Linked DNA regions of Homo sapiens: regions 1, 3 and 4 are each linked to region 2. Evidence: promoter capture Hi-C in 16 types of primary human blood cells and fetal thymus (Javierre and others, 2016). All regions are on one chromosome and are shown on one strand. Each heading gives the region's core, a stretch centred on a gene start or on the middle of the fragment in contact. The rest is flanking DNA. Distances are from core to core; before and after follow the strand shown. Region 1 has its middle 18 kb from the start of ITM2C. Region 2 holds the start of PSMD1 (proteasome 26S subunit, non-ATPase 1). Region 3 overlaps CAB39 (calcium binding protein 39). Region 4 overlaps GCSIR (GPR55 cis regulatory suppressor of immune response RNA).

The links. Contacts are between HindIII fragments. The CHiCAGO score rates a contact against its expected background, and 5 or more counts as called.
Region 1: a fragment that was not itself captured here is called in contact with the fragment with the promoter of PSMD1 in region 2 in 1 of 17 cell types (fetal thymus); the score reaches 5.9 in fetal thymus.
Region 3: a contact is called between a fragment that was not itself captured here and the fragment with the promoter of PSMD1 in region 2, in 3 of 17 cell types (naive CD8 T cells, fetal thymus and endothelial precursors). The highest score is 8.1, in naive CD8 T cells.
Region 4: a contact is called between a fragment that was not itself captured here and the fragment with the promoter of PSMD1 in region 2, in 1 of 17 cell types (M1 macrophages). The highest score is 5.4, in M1 macrophages.

Annotation. Positions count from the first base shown.
Region 1 is chr2:230,846,015-230,848,714 of GRCh38, reverse strand. No RefSeq gene overlaps it. Among named protein-coding and RNA genes, the nearest start is that of ITM2C, 18 kb to the left of the region's middle. The HindIII fragment of the contact is 2,087 bases long and covers 344-2,430 here.
Region 2 is chr2:231,055,259-231,058,268 of GRCh38, reverse strand. PSMD1 (proteasome 26S subunit, non-ATPase 1) reads right to left here and starts at 1,402. Exons shown (of 25, transcript NM_002807.4): 1 at 1,228-1,402. The coding sequence starts at 1,243. It overlaps LOC112268432 (a long non-coding RNA gene), which reads left to right and starts at 523. Exons shown (of 2, transcript XR_002959456.2): 1 at 523-932. RefSeq lists a silencer at 1,312-1,501. The HindIII fragment of the contact is 9,212 bases long and covers 1-3,010 here.
Region 3 is chr2:230,819,195-230,822,044 of GRCh38, reverse strand. CAB39 (calcium binding protein 39) reads right to left here. Exons shown (of 9, transcript NM_016289.4): 9 at 970-2,850. Among named protein-coding and RNA genes, the nearest start is that of ITM2C, 44 kb to the left of the region's middle. The HindIII fragment of the contact is 3,617 bases long and covers 1-2,850 here.
Region 4 is chr2:230,896,857-230,899,593 of GRCh38, reverse strand. GCSIR (GPR55 cis regulatory suppressor of immune response RNA) reads right to left here. Exons shown (of 4, transcript NR_038238.1): 3 at 2,504-2,737. Among named protein-coding and RNA genes, the nearest start is that of GCSIR, 12 kb to the right of the region's middle. The HindIII fragment of the contact is 2,050 bases long and covers 242-2,291 here.

The sequences.
Region 1 (2,700 bases), core at 138-2,637, 210 kb after region 2:
TTTTCTATTATGGTTTATTCCTTGCTTGTGCACGCAGAAAGTTCCTCTCCTCCTTATATATTCACCAATATTTCCTTCCAGCACTGATAGACACACATAAACAAACATCAAAATTGTTGGTCATCACTACTTTTTTTTTTTTTTTAATGATCTTGACTATTGCAATGTGTTGGCTTTTCAAGACAAATTTTAGAATGGTTTGCTACTTGTTTGCAAAAACCTGTTGGGATTTAAATTGGATTTGCTTTAATTTTGGGGAGAATCAGCATTTTCATAATCTTCCCATCCAAGAATGTGGTTTGTCTCTCCATTTACTTTAAGCTTTATGGTCCGTAGTAAAGCTTTGTGCCTTTCTTTAGGTAGATTATAAATTTCTTCCTAGGAATTCTGTATTTGTAGTTGCTGCGAAGGGAATGTTTTTGCAGCCAGCCTTCTTCCTGGGAACTCCGTCGCGGGCCGGACCTCTCTTCCCGCGGTTGGGAGAACCTGCAGAGGGCAAGAGGCACGTTCGCGGACCGCAGGCCTGGAGGTGGTGGCGCCTAGCTGAGGGCCCTTGAGGCCTCCGGGAGTCCCCGCCGGGCCTCGCTCGGGGCGAAGACCTCGAGAGAAACTGGGTTCCGGCGGCGCCCCCTTGTGGCAGTCTGCAGGGCCGCGCTTCTGCTACTGTTGAGTTCCACCCCGAACTCCCCTCCTCCGCCTTCCTTCCCGGCTACAAGTTTGAGTCACCGCCCAGAAGGAAGGCAAATGATTTTTAACCACTTTAGACTCAGAAAAAGACAAATACAGTTTGGAAGGTGAATATGAAAAAGTCACTTGAGGCCGGGCGCGGTGGCTCAGCACTCTGGGAGGTAATCCCGGCACTTTGGGAGGCTGAGGCGGGTGGATCACTTGAGGTCAGCAGTTCGAGACCAGCTTGGCCAACATGGTGAAACCTCGTCTCCACTAAAAATACAAAAATTAGCCGGGTATGGTGGTGCATGCCTGTAATCCCGGCTACTCAGGAGGCTGAGGTGAGAGGGTCACTCAAACCTGGGAGGCAGAGGTTGCAATGAGCTGAGATCTCACCACTGCGCTCCAGCCTGGGTGGCGGAGTAAGACCCTGTCTCAAAAAAAAAAAAAAAAGTCACCTGAAAGTCACACTTACTCTTAAAAGTGCAGCAGCGTCTTATTCATTCATTCAATGCCTATTGATTGAGCGAGGTGTCTCATGCACCAGGCTGTGGGGATTCAGGCTTGAACCAAGATAGACAAGGGCCCTACTATTCCCTTTCGTCTATGTTCTAAAGAAAGGAGACAGGCAATAAGCAAGTAAATAAGTGTGATTATTTCCAAGAGTAAGTGCTTTGAAGAAAATAAAACAGTGACGTAAGAGGAATGAAGGGTGGGGGGTGGCCAGCATTGGCTAGGGTAGTCAGGGTGGGCTTTTCTGGGGAGGCATCGTTGAAGTGATGAGCTGATGAACAGGAGTCAGCCGGGGCAAGACGGGTCTACTAGAGATCACCCACTCTTGTCAAATCCAGAGTCTATTTGTTGTAGAAGTGGAAACTCAATCAGGAAAAACTGTAGCACATGCATCTGGTTACCTTGTCTGTTCTTTCATATTCATGTTTCACAACGCAGTTGTGTTTCACCCACAAGATTAAAGTTCAGGTTCATCCACAGGGATAAGGGCATGTGGGTCCCCCTAGCAGTTTGTACTTGTTTAGGGAGTGTGGACCTCTTTGGCCTGGGTATGGGAGGCATTTCTTTTTAGAACTTGAGCTGTCTTTTGGGCTATGCTTAAGGACATTTTTTCATCTGTAATTATTGTTGTCAATAAAAAAGTTAAGTCTAGGAATTGGTGACAGTTTAATGGGCTAAATTGTACCCCTATCCTCAATTCATATGTTGAAGTCTTAATCTCCAATACCTCAGAATGGGACTGTATTTGGAGATAGGGTCTTTAAAGAGGTAATTAAATTAAAATGAGGTCATTAGAGTGGGTCCTAATCCAGTGCTGGCCACCCCCCCGCCCCCTTCATTCCTTTTACATCACTGTCCTTATAAGAAGAGGAGATTCGGACACAGACACACACAAAAGGGGGACCACGAGACCCCTTGGGAGAAGATGGCATCTACAAGCCAGGGAGAGAGGCCTCTGGAGAAACCAACCCTGCAGACACCTTGGTCTTGGACTTCCAGCCACCCAGTCCGCGGTACTTTGTTACGGCAACCTTAGCAAACTAACACACTTAGATAATGTGATCCTTAGAATGAAATTAAGAAAAATCAAAGTATAATGGTTGAAAGGAATGACCCACTCTAAGACATTATTTGTAAATAGGCCTTAGGCAAGCTGAGGCCTAACTAGTCATGCTGTACCTGGTGTGAGGAAAGAATGTGTTCAGAGGAGGTAGAACAGGGAGCTCAAAGGATAGGGACTTGAAAGCTTTCAAAAACTCATTCATTTAACCAACAGTGTAATAAGCACCAGCTGCTTGCTAAGGGGTGGAGGTGAATCAAGCCCAAGGAAGGGACACATGAAGTTCAGAGCGAACTAAACAACAAATCGAGTCTGCAGGTCTGGGGAAAGTCATTGCGTATTTCCATCATCTGCTGAAATAGTCCTTGAGACACCCCCTCCACTGTGCTGCCTGCTGCCCTGTCGGATGCCTACTAGACAACCTTTTGGTTTCTAATTTCGCTTGACTTAGGAGAAGG
Region 2 (3,010 bases), core at 153-2,652:
GTTAGAAGAAACATTGGTAATGGATGGATTTGAAATAGAATGAGGCCTATAGGTGGCAAGAAACTGAGTGTTTATTTGATCTTTACAAAGCTCTGACTGGAAAAACTTCCTGATACTGAACTAAAATTCATCTCGCGATCACTTGTATCTCTTGGGGACAAAAAGTCTTATTTCAGGTACAAGTGACAGCTCTTCAAATGTTTGAAAGTAACTACGTCTCCCAGTATCTCCAACGATCTCCTTAACCAATCCTCATAAAAATAAAGTTTTGATCGCCTTACCATTCAGATTACTGTCTTCTGCTCACCAGTTTGTTTACAATAAAATGCTTTCTTTGTGGGTCAAACACAGAGTAAGAAAATGAGAAAAGGGTATGTAAATAGGCAACGGAAAAAAGCACCAAGGCTCTGGACAGCTATATGCAAGTCAATCTGTAACGGGGAGCTTAAGTCTCCAATTGAAACTTGATCTCTGTAACTTACTCCATTGCAAATGTCACTACGTGAATCTACCTATGCAATGGTTTGCGCGTATGAAACCTGCTCCGCAGATCCATCCATTCTTTCTTGAATGTACAGTCAACAGACTGAGCACATAACCTCGAAAGGGTATAAGTAGGCTCTCAGTATAAAGGTATCTCCAGGGCGTCTTTAGGGTCTTCGCCGAACCCAAAAGTTCTCTGGGTGTTTTGAATGAACACCCTTGGATCGGACCCAGAAATGACCCACCTCAAACCTAATTTCGGGTTTCATTCTAAGGCGAATGGAGCTCGGCCACGTCCAGAAACACTTCTGTAGCAGTTAGGCTGCCCGATCAGGGGGGTTTGCCTTACTGTTCAATGGCACAGGGGCCCATCCCACCCCGGCCCCCTGCGGGCAAGAACTGGGGCTGGACGACCTCACACGGCCAAGAATGGGAGGCACAGAAAAAAGGTAAGCCCTTCTGGGGTCAGGGGAAGGCCCAGGAAGCCCCTCGGGTCCTGGCGCTGGGGTGTGATTGGGGAGGGATGCCGAGGCGGTCGACCCGGCTCGATTCCCTCAAGCCAGAGAAGCACGCAGTGACCTGATCAGACTCCCAGCCCCCCGGCCCGGGGGTGGGCCCTGGGCAGCAAGAAGCTGCCCAGGCCGGCGTTCCGCCGGGAGGCGCCCAGTCACCGGCCCTGACTCAGCTAAAAGCCGGCGCGGCGGCGGCTCCTCCCTCCAGGCGCTGGCTACGGGCCGCACTCACCGGCCGAGGTGATCATGGCTGCGCCCCTCACTCGCCCGTCGGCTCGCTCGCCGTTCCAGCTGCGCAGTGTATCTGTCAGCTCAGGGGCCGCTCAGTTCACCGCGCCTCCTTGCTCCCCGGGTGCGCTGCTCAGTCAGTCGCCTCCTCAGGCCGCCGGCTCGCTTCTCGCCAGGACCCCGCCCGCCCAGGGGCTGCCCGCCACCCCGCCTGCCGCCCGGCGCGAATTCTCCCCTGGCCTGCGTCTTCTGCGCGGCGGTATACTCCCCAGCCCTCGCGGAAGGGTACACAGAGAACACCATTGTTTTCTCTAAACCTCCTCGAGGTCAGGAGTCCCGCGCAACGGAACACTGGTCTGCACCTGAGGTCAGGCATTAGAATGGCCAGCCCTGCAAAGAGAGGACCCCCACCATCACCCGCCATTGCTGAGAGAAAGGGTGTTGAGGGGAGGTGCGAGCATTGCGCGCAGTGCCACCTACTGGTGGGAGGTCTCGCTGCAACACATCTCCCACCAGATAATGCTTAGGGAATTGGGGCTGCCGCAAACAGCGTTTTTTTTTGTTTTTTGTTTTTTTTCCCAGAAAAGTGGCTTTCAATTGTTTTCTAAAGCAAAACCTATCATAAAAAAAAGAAAATCCCCATAGAAGTGCTTTATTATCATAATGAATCCACAAGTAATCATTGGCTTATTATAAAGTTGAACAATGAAGGTTTTTACTTACTTTTGGAAAAATGTCCAGTGTTGTCAATATATTAAAATGTGCAGTAGTTATATGGCGAAAGCCTTTCCAAGGGAGAAAAAATGTCTTCCATTCTTTCCTTCTATCTGCCCAGGTCCTCTTTCCCCCGACGGCAGTGGGTTCTTCGTTTCTAATACATCTTCAGAAATTTGAAATGGCAGTTGCAATGGCCATTTGCAGTCTTATGCTAGCTTCAAGAAGTCAATTTATTTCAAGAGTCAGTACTGAGAAAGTCTTGACAAGGAATAGGGCAAACGGTAGCATTTTTTTCAGCCACCGGCCTTGCACTATCAAGCTAAACTCTTCAATCGCACAGCGATGGCGAGTTCATTTCTACGGCCTTCTACGTAACCTAGGGGCACAATCAATGTCTTGTGGTTGCCAGTGAATTAAATGTGCTTGATAACACATTTTGTTGTATCTGTGACTTTTTTTGTTTAAATTAGAATTCTTAAACTGTGGTTGTTTAAAATATATTAAATATAATTATTGAACATTTTTGAAGAGCCTGTGGCTCAGATTGAAAGGCAGGGCTCGAGAAGATGTGCATGCAAAGTAAACAGATTACTTGGGGTGTCATTCTACAGAGGTACTTCTTTTTTTTTTTTTTTGAGATGGAGTGTCCCTCTGCCACCCAGGCTGTAGGGCAATGGCGCGATCTCGGCTCACTGCAACCTCCGCCTCCTGGGTTCAAGCGATTCTCCTGCTCAGTCTCCCAAGTAGCTGGGACTACAGGTGTATGCCACCACACCCGGCTAATTTTTGTATTTTTAGTAGAGACAGGGTTTCACCATGTTAGCTAGGATGGTCTCGATCTCCTGACCTCATGATCCGCCCGCCTCGGCCTCCCAAAATGCTGGGATTAAAGATGTGAGTCACTGCACCTGGCTCTACAGAGGCACTTCTACCAAGCCCTCACATGAAGACAGTTGTATTCCCCAAACCCCTAGAGGAGTCACAAACAAATGCCAACAGGTAATGAAAATGAGTAAAGCAGGACCAGCGAAAGAAAATACAAGCTCCACAGGATGGTGAATGGCAACTAA
Region 3 (2,850 bases), core at 290-2,789, 240 kb after region 2:
TGGGCTGCCCGCTCTTCCCCTAAAGGACAACTTTGGCACGTTGGCAGGTGGGCTTTCTCATGACCGTGAGTGGCTCTAACCTCCAGCATGAACAAGGTATTGGGCACTGACTGCAGCCTCAGAGCACTTCCCGATCAGGACCTTGTTGGAGCCTAACTAGGAAGGCTGGGTGAGAACTGCACTACTCCTGAGCTGCCTGAAGTGCAACGTTCTGGAGCTTCTTTGGCAAGGGGAGGAGGGCATTTGATGGGGGATTGTGGTAGGAAGTGGAATTTGAGCTGAAGCGTGAATCCAGTCCTCAGCCTGGTGATCCTTATAAGTGGCCAAGTCACAAGTTATGACTTAATGGGCCCTTGTCACCTTTGGGGAACTACAACGTACAAGTAGACTGAACTACTTGACAGAAATAACAAATAGGACATTGTTATTCGGATGAAGTGTTTTTGGCAAGAGCATGTCCCTTGCCTTCACTCCAGAGAATAAGATTTCATTTACTGACAGGGGTTAAAGTCGAGGGCAGGGCTGTGAACTAAGGATTACGAGGCACCCTGGAAGGCAGACGAGGGACATTCTTTACGGTGCCAGAGTTCTTGTGCCTGCTTCCACGGTCCCCTCGCCTTCATGATCATTTCACATCAGTAACCTGTGAATACTCCGGGCCGAGTGTTCTAGTTTAGCCTCGCGGTGTTGCTAACAGCGCAAGAGAGGATCTACTCCTCAAACGTTAGGGTCTAAGAAATGGTACCATTAAAAGGTGTGATTTTACTCAGGAAGGGTAAGGAAAACATGAGCACGGGGGCGGTGGGGGGGAAGTGAAGCCCCTGAACAGGGAAAAAGGCAGACAGGAATGGGTGTTAACTGTCCCTCCACTTTCAGTTGGTGATAAAATTCGGGCTTGTGTGTCTCCTGATGAAGCTGTTCACAGTAACACAAATGCAACTGTCTATAACACATCATAAAGACAGACAATGCTGTTTCTCCAAAATTTTATTTTAATTTAAATTACAGGGCCAGCCAGATATTCTGATAAGAAATTCACTTTTCCTTAGGAGAAAGAAAATGCTTTCATGGCATTGTTAACAAATGTATACATCTCCACTTTTTTAAGGGTTAAAAATCACATTAAGTAACTGCCTTATGTAAAATTAAACCTTTATAACACAAAAACCACTTCCAGTATAATAGTCTTGGTAATATGAATATATTAAATGATCATAACTTCAAATGCAACATTTCAAACTTAAATGTTTTCACATTGTTTTGCTTAAAAACAAAACCCACGAAGTCTGAACTACCTTCAGATTCCAATGTAAGAGTAACATGAATGTTGTGTCTGACACGCTGCACCCTCACTTCTTCCACCTAAAAGGCTACGACCTCACTGCCAAAGTGGAAGCTGTTCTAGATGTGTAAGTTCTAAGAATGAGCTTGGCAAGAAGACGTTTCTTCCACTTGGTGTAATCCATGTTTTTACACTAACTCCATACACACAGCACTACACCACAAAGCCAGGACACCACATCACGGCCAAGTCTTCCTTCCTAAACATCCAAGAGATTTTTTTTTCAAGGAGACTAGATTGCCTTATTTCACACAGATTCTGGTAAAGACAGTCTTGAGAAATGCCAATTATGATGTAGACTGCCATTTTAATAAAAATAAAATATATCTATATTTTCTGGAGCTATTTTCCTAACTGGTGTTCCTGAAGGTTTAAAACCTGCTGAAACAGCAATTGGGAGGCCCATTTTACTGGCCAGTATATAATTCCATTAGTAAGAGAGGCTAGCAAAGAATAATCATATCAATTTCTTAATCAGCTGCAGCCATGCTGAATTTGAACTGGCAAACTCTGATTTGTCAGTTGTTAGTTGTGATCTTCATATCACTAAAATGAACAGATACCATTCTAATAACTTTACATAGATATAGTCTAGAAGACATTGTTCTGCCGTGGTCACAGTAACAAAAAAGTGGTGCAAAATCAGTTACTTTATAAATACTGATAATTTGCAGCATTAAGGAACAGGACATTAAAAAAAATAAATTTCCCCATAGGACACCTATGACTAGGAAGTCGTCTTTTCCTAAGAGAAGCCAAAGTTTTAATTATTCAGTTCACAACTATTGTACTGGGTTACTTAGTCTAAGAAAGAAAAGGTGCTCTACAGAGATTTCCCACACACACAAAGAATCAGCATTAATTTAGCATAATCTCTATCATTCACAGATCTGGCAGATTCATTAACTCATTTAAAATGAATAAGGCCAATAGGATGCAGGAAGGTGTGGCTGACTGAGCTCCAGGGCTGTATCGCAGCTTATTGATGGCACCCCATTAGGTAACTGAATACAAAGGACTGGTTTACTTTCTTTTTCTTTTAATGCTGTGATACTTAAATGTTAAATCAGCATTTTCATGTGATCTGAAGTATTTCAATTACATATGAGCATTCATTGTTTTTTGCAAAAACTCAGTATTAGGTAATAGTTACATACTACTACAATAACATTCCTCTGCTGTACAAATTAAACCATTTAAAAGAAATGAGCATTCTAAGAATTATATACAAAAGAAACCTTGAAGCAGTGTTGAAATGAAATGCAAGGTGTCATTGCTAGCTCTACTGTTTTAAAGTATCTTTGAAAAGTAAAATTAACAAATACCCTTCAACATATCCAGGTTTACAAGTCTCAAGAAAATCAAATGTCAAAAAATTCTAGAAAGCTGTGAAAAGCATATATACATTTTCCTTATGATCTTATGAGGCTTCTTTACACTTTTAAGAAGTTGCTAAGTTTCAGTATCAATTTATTCGCATGTCAACTTTAGCTGCCCCCAAACTCCCA
Region 4 (2,737 bases), core at 17-2,516, 160 kb after region 2:
TTCCCTGTCACTGAGTGATCCAAAGGACCAAGGCCAGGGACCCTTGCACCAAACCGTGCTGTCAGATTCTGTCTGCCAGCGGGGGAGCCCAGGGAAGCCCAGGGCCGCTGCAGTCACCTCCAGGCAGTGCACGTTGCTCAGCAACCTCTTTGCAACTGTGAGCTGCTCCACATCCCTGCGAAGAGCCTTCTTTTGCTTGAATTAGCTGGAGCTGGTTTCTCTTGCAGGGAACAAAGAAGCTTCCTGTTAGCAAAATGAAGTTTCCTGCTTCAGCAAGAGAAAGGCTCCTTATGGGGAGATGGGAGAGGGGAGTGGGAAGACAGAGGCCCTGGGTATGGGTGCTTGGAGATTCTCTCTTTCCTGGGGGTGAAGGGGAAAGGGAGAGGGAGATTGTATGGCCAGACCTCTTCCACAGCCTTAAAACAGGGATGTAAGCCCTTTTGACAATTTCACTTGAATTCCTTGGGAAATACCAGGTTAGGGTGTTTTCTTGGATGAAAACTCGGGTGGTGCAGGCAGCAAAGCCCATCATCGACGGCCCCAGGGAGCCACGTGCAGATTCTTCCCTTTCCTGCAGTGTGCCCTGGCCTGCAAGGCCCTGTCTAAGGACGCTGGGGTGGACTGAGGCTGCCACAGGAGGGCATGGAGGGTATGGAGGAAAAGGAAAGCTGCTTGATTCATCGGCATCTGACAAAGTGTTCTGTCTACACCATGCCTGCTGCACGAGGCACCTGGTCAGATGTTGGCCCTTGCTGCCCACTAAAGGTCAAAGAGGTGATGGGGATCCCCCTTCCCCACATCATCCCAGGAATTCTCTGACTGTCCTTGGGTCTCTCTGGGAAGACTTCTCGGAGCCCCTGGCCCCAGCTGGGGGTCCCTCCTCTGTGATCCCATGGCACCCTAACTTTCCACAAGGAACTGGGGTGAGTGAGGGTCTCTTGAGTGCAGGGAGCTCATTCAGGTTTATTATGGAAGCTGGGTGACAGTGATGGTTGCATGGTTGCACAACTTTATAAATTTTCTAAAAATTACTGAATTGTTAAACAAGAAAGAAGGAAGCAAAAGCTGTTTTGTTGAAGGATGTACATGGAAATAAAGAAGACAGGACTCTCAGCTCCGTGCAAGCCTGCCCGGGTCCCAGGACAGGCTCACAGCAAGACCTCCCGGGAGGTCCCCATGGGGCCTGGAACACGGCTCAGGTTTGGAAGGGCTTGAGGGTCCAGGGAAGTCTATTGGCTCTGCTCTATCCTTCCTGCCTTTCGGTCTCTGTCTCCTACCACCGTTGTCCCAGCTGGCGGCCACTATCTCTGCTGGCCTCTCCACCCGTGTCCATCACTGGCAGCCTGAGGATGGGCTACCTGTGAATCACGTGCTCCTCCCTGGTCCAGTCAACCACGGCGGAGGAGATGGGGCCATGTGAGATGCCGCCTATGGGGCCGCCTGGAGCTGCTACCTTCAGCAGGGGCCTGGCAGGTGCTCTGAGGCTTTGTGTGTTTTTCTCCACCTCTGTGCCAGGAGGCTGCTGCCCTTCAAGTCTTGTGGGGACACAGTCATGTCCATTCACACTGTCTGCAGTGGCTGCTTTGGAGCTACAGCAGACCACGGTAGTTATGACAGAGACTGTATGGTTTGTAAAACTGAAAACACTTGTAATCTAGCCCTTTGCAAAAAATTTCCCTAATGCCTGCTCTGAACTATAAACTCTTCAGGGAAGGGACTAGGTCTTGTTCATCTCTGGATCTTCAGAACTTAGCAGAGTGTCAGACACATAGTAGAAGCTCAATAAATTGTAGGAGCTCAATTAAATAGATAAATAGATGGAGTCTGGGCTGAATCTGTGCAGTCTATGTCCTTTACTTTAAAAAGAGGCTTCCCGGCCGGGTGCAGTGACTCACACCTGTAAGCACTTTGGGAGGCCAAGGTGGTAGGATCGCGTGAGCTCAGGAGTTTGAGACCAGCCTGGGCAATGTAGTGAGACCTTGTCTCTATTAAAAATAATAATAATAATAATAATAACTGGGTGTGGTGGTGTGCTTGTCATCCCAGCTACTTGGGGGGCTGAGGTGGGAGGATTGCATGAGCTCGGGAGGTTGAGGCTGCAATGAGCTGTGATCCTGCCACTGGACCCCAACCTGGGTGACAGAGCGAGACCCTGTCTCAGAAGGGAAATAAATAAAAGGGGGCTTCTCCTAGACAACACTCTCCTCCTGCTCCTGCTCATTGAACAAGGTGACCAAATGTCCCAGTCTGTCCAGGACTGAGGGAGACCAAGGCTACTCAGTGTTAAAGCTTGGAAAGTTCCAGGCAAACTGGGATAATGTGGTTCCTTATATTGGATACCTGGCCTCTCTATATGTTGAAGCAGCTGCCTACCTCATTTGGGCAATGAATCCACTGTAGTTAGCCAGGTAGAACCATGTGTGCCTAGTAGAAATAGGAATACACATAATCAGCTGCATAACAGATTCAAACAACATAACAGTGTAAAGGAGCAAGGCAGTACCTGGTGGTAGCAGTTGTGCTGAGGATTCTGGGTGTTACCAGTGAAGCGGGTAAGATCTCGTGGGGCTGGGATGATGGAGAAAGGCTTTCTGGGAAGCTGGAGTCCACTCAAGTCTTGATTGGATGAGACAGAATCATCTCTGGCAGAGAAGGAAGGCAGCGACCTTACTGGTGCACGAGGTCCCTGGTGTCCACGTATCAGTCCCCAGGGAAAATTCGGATTGGTCACATGTCA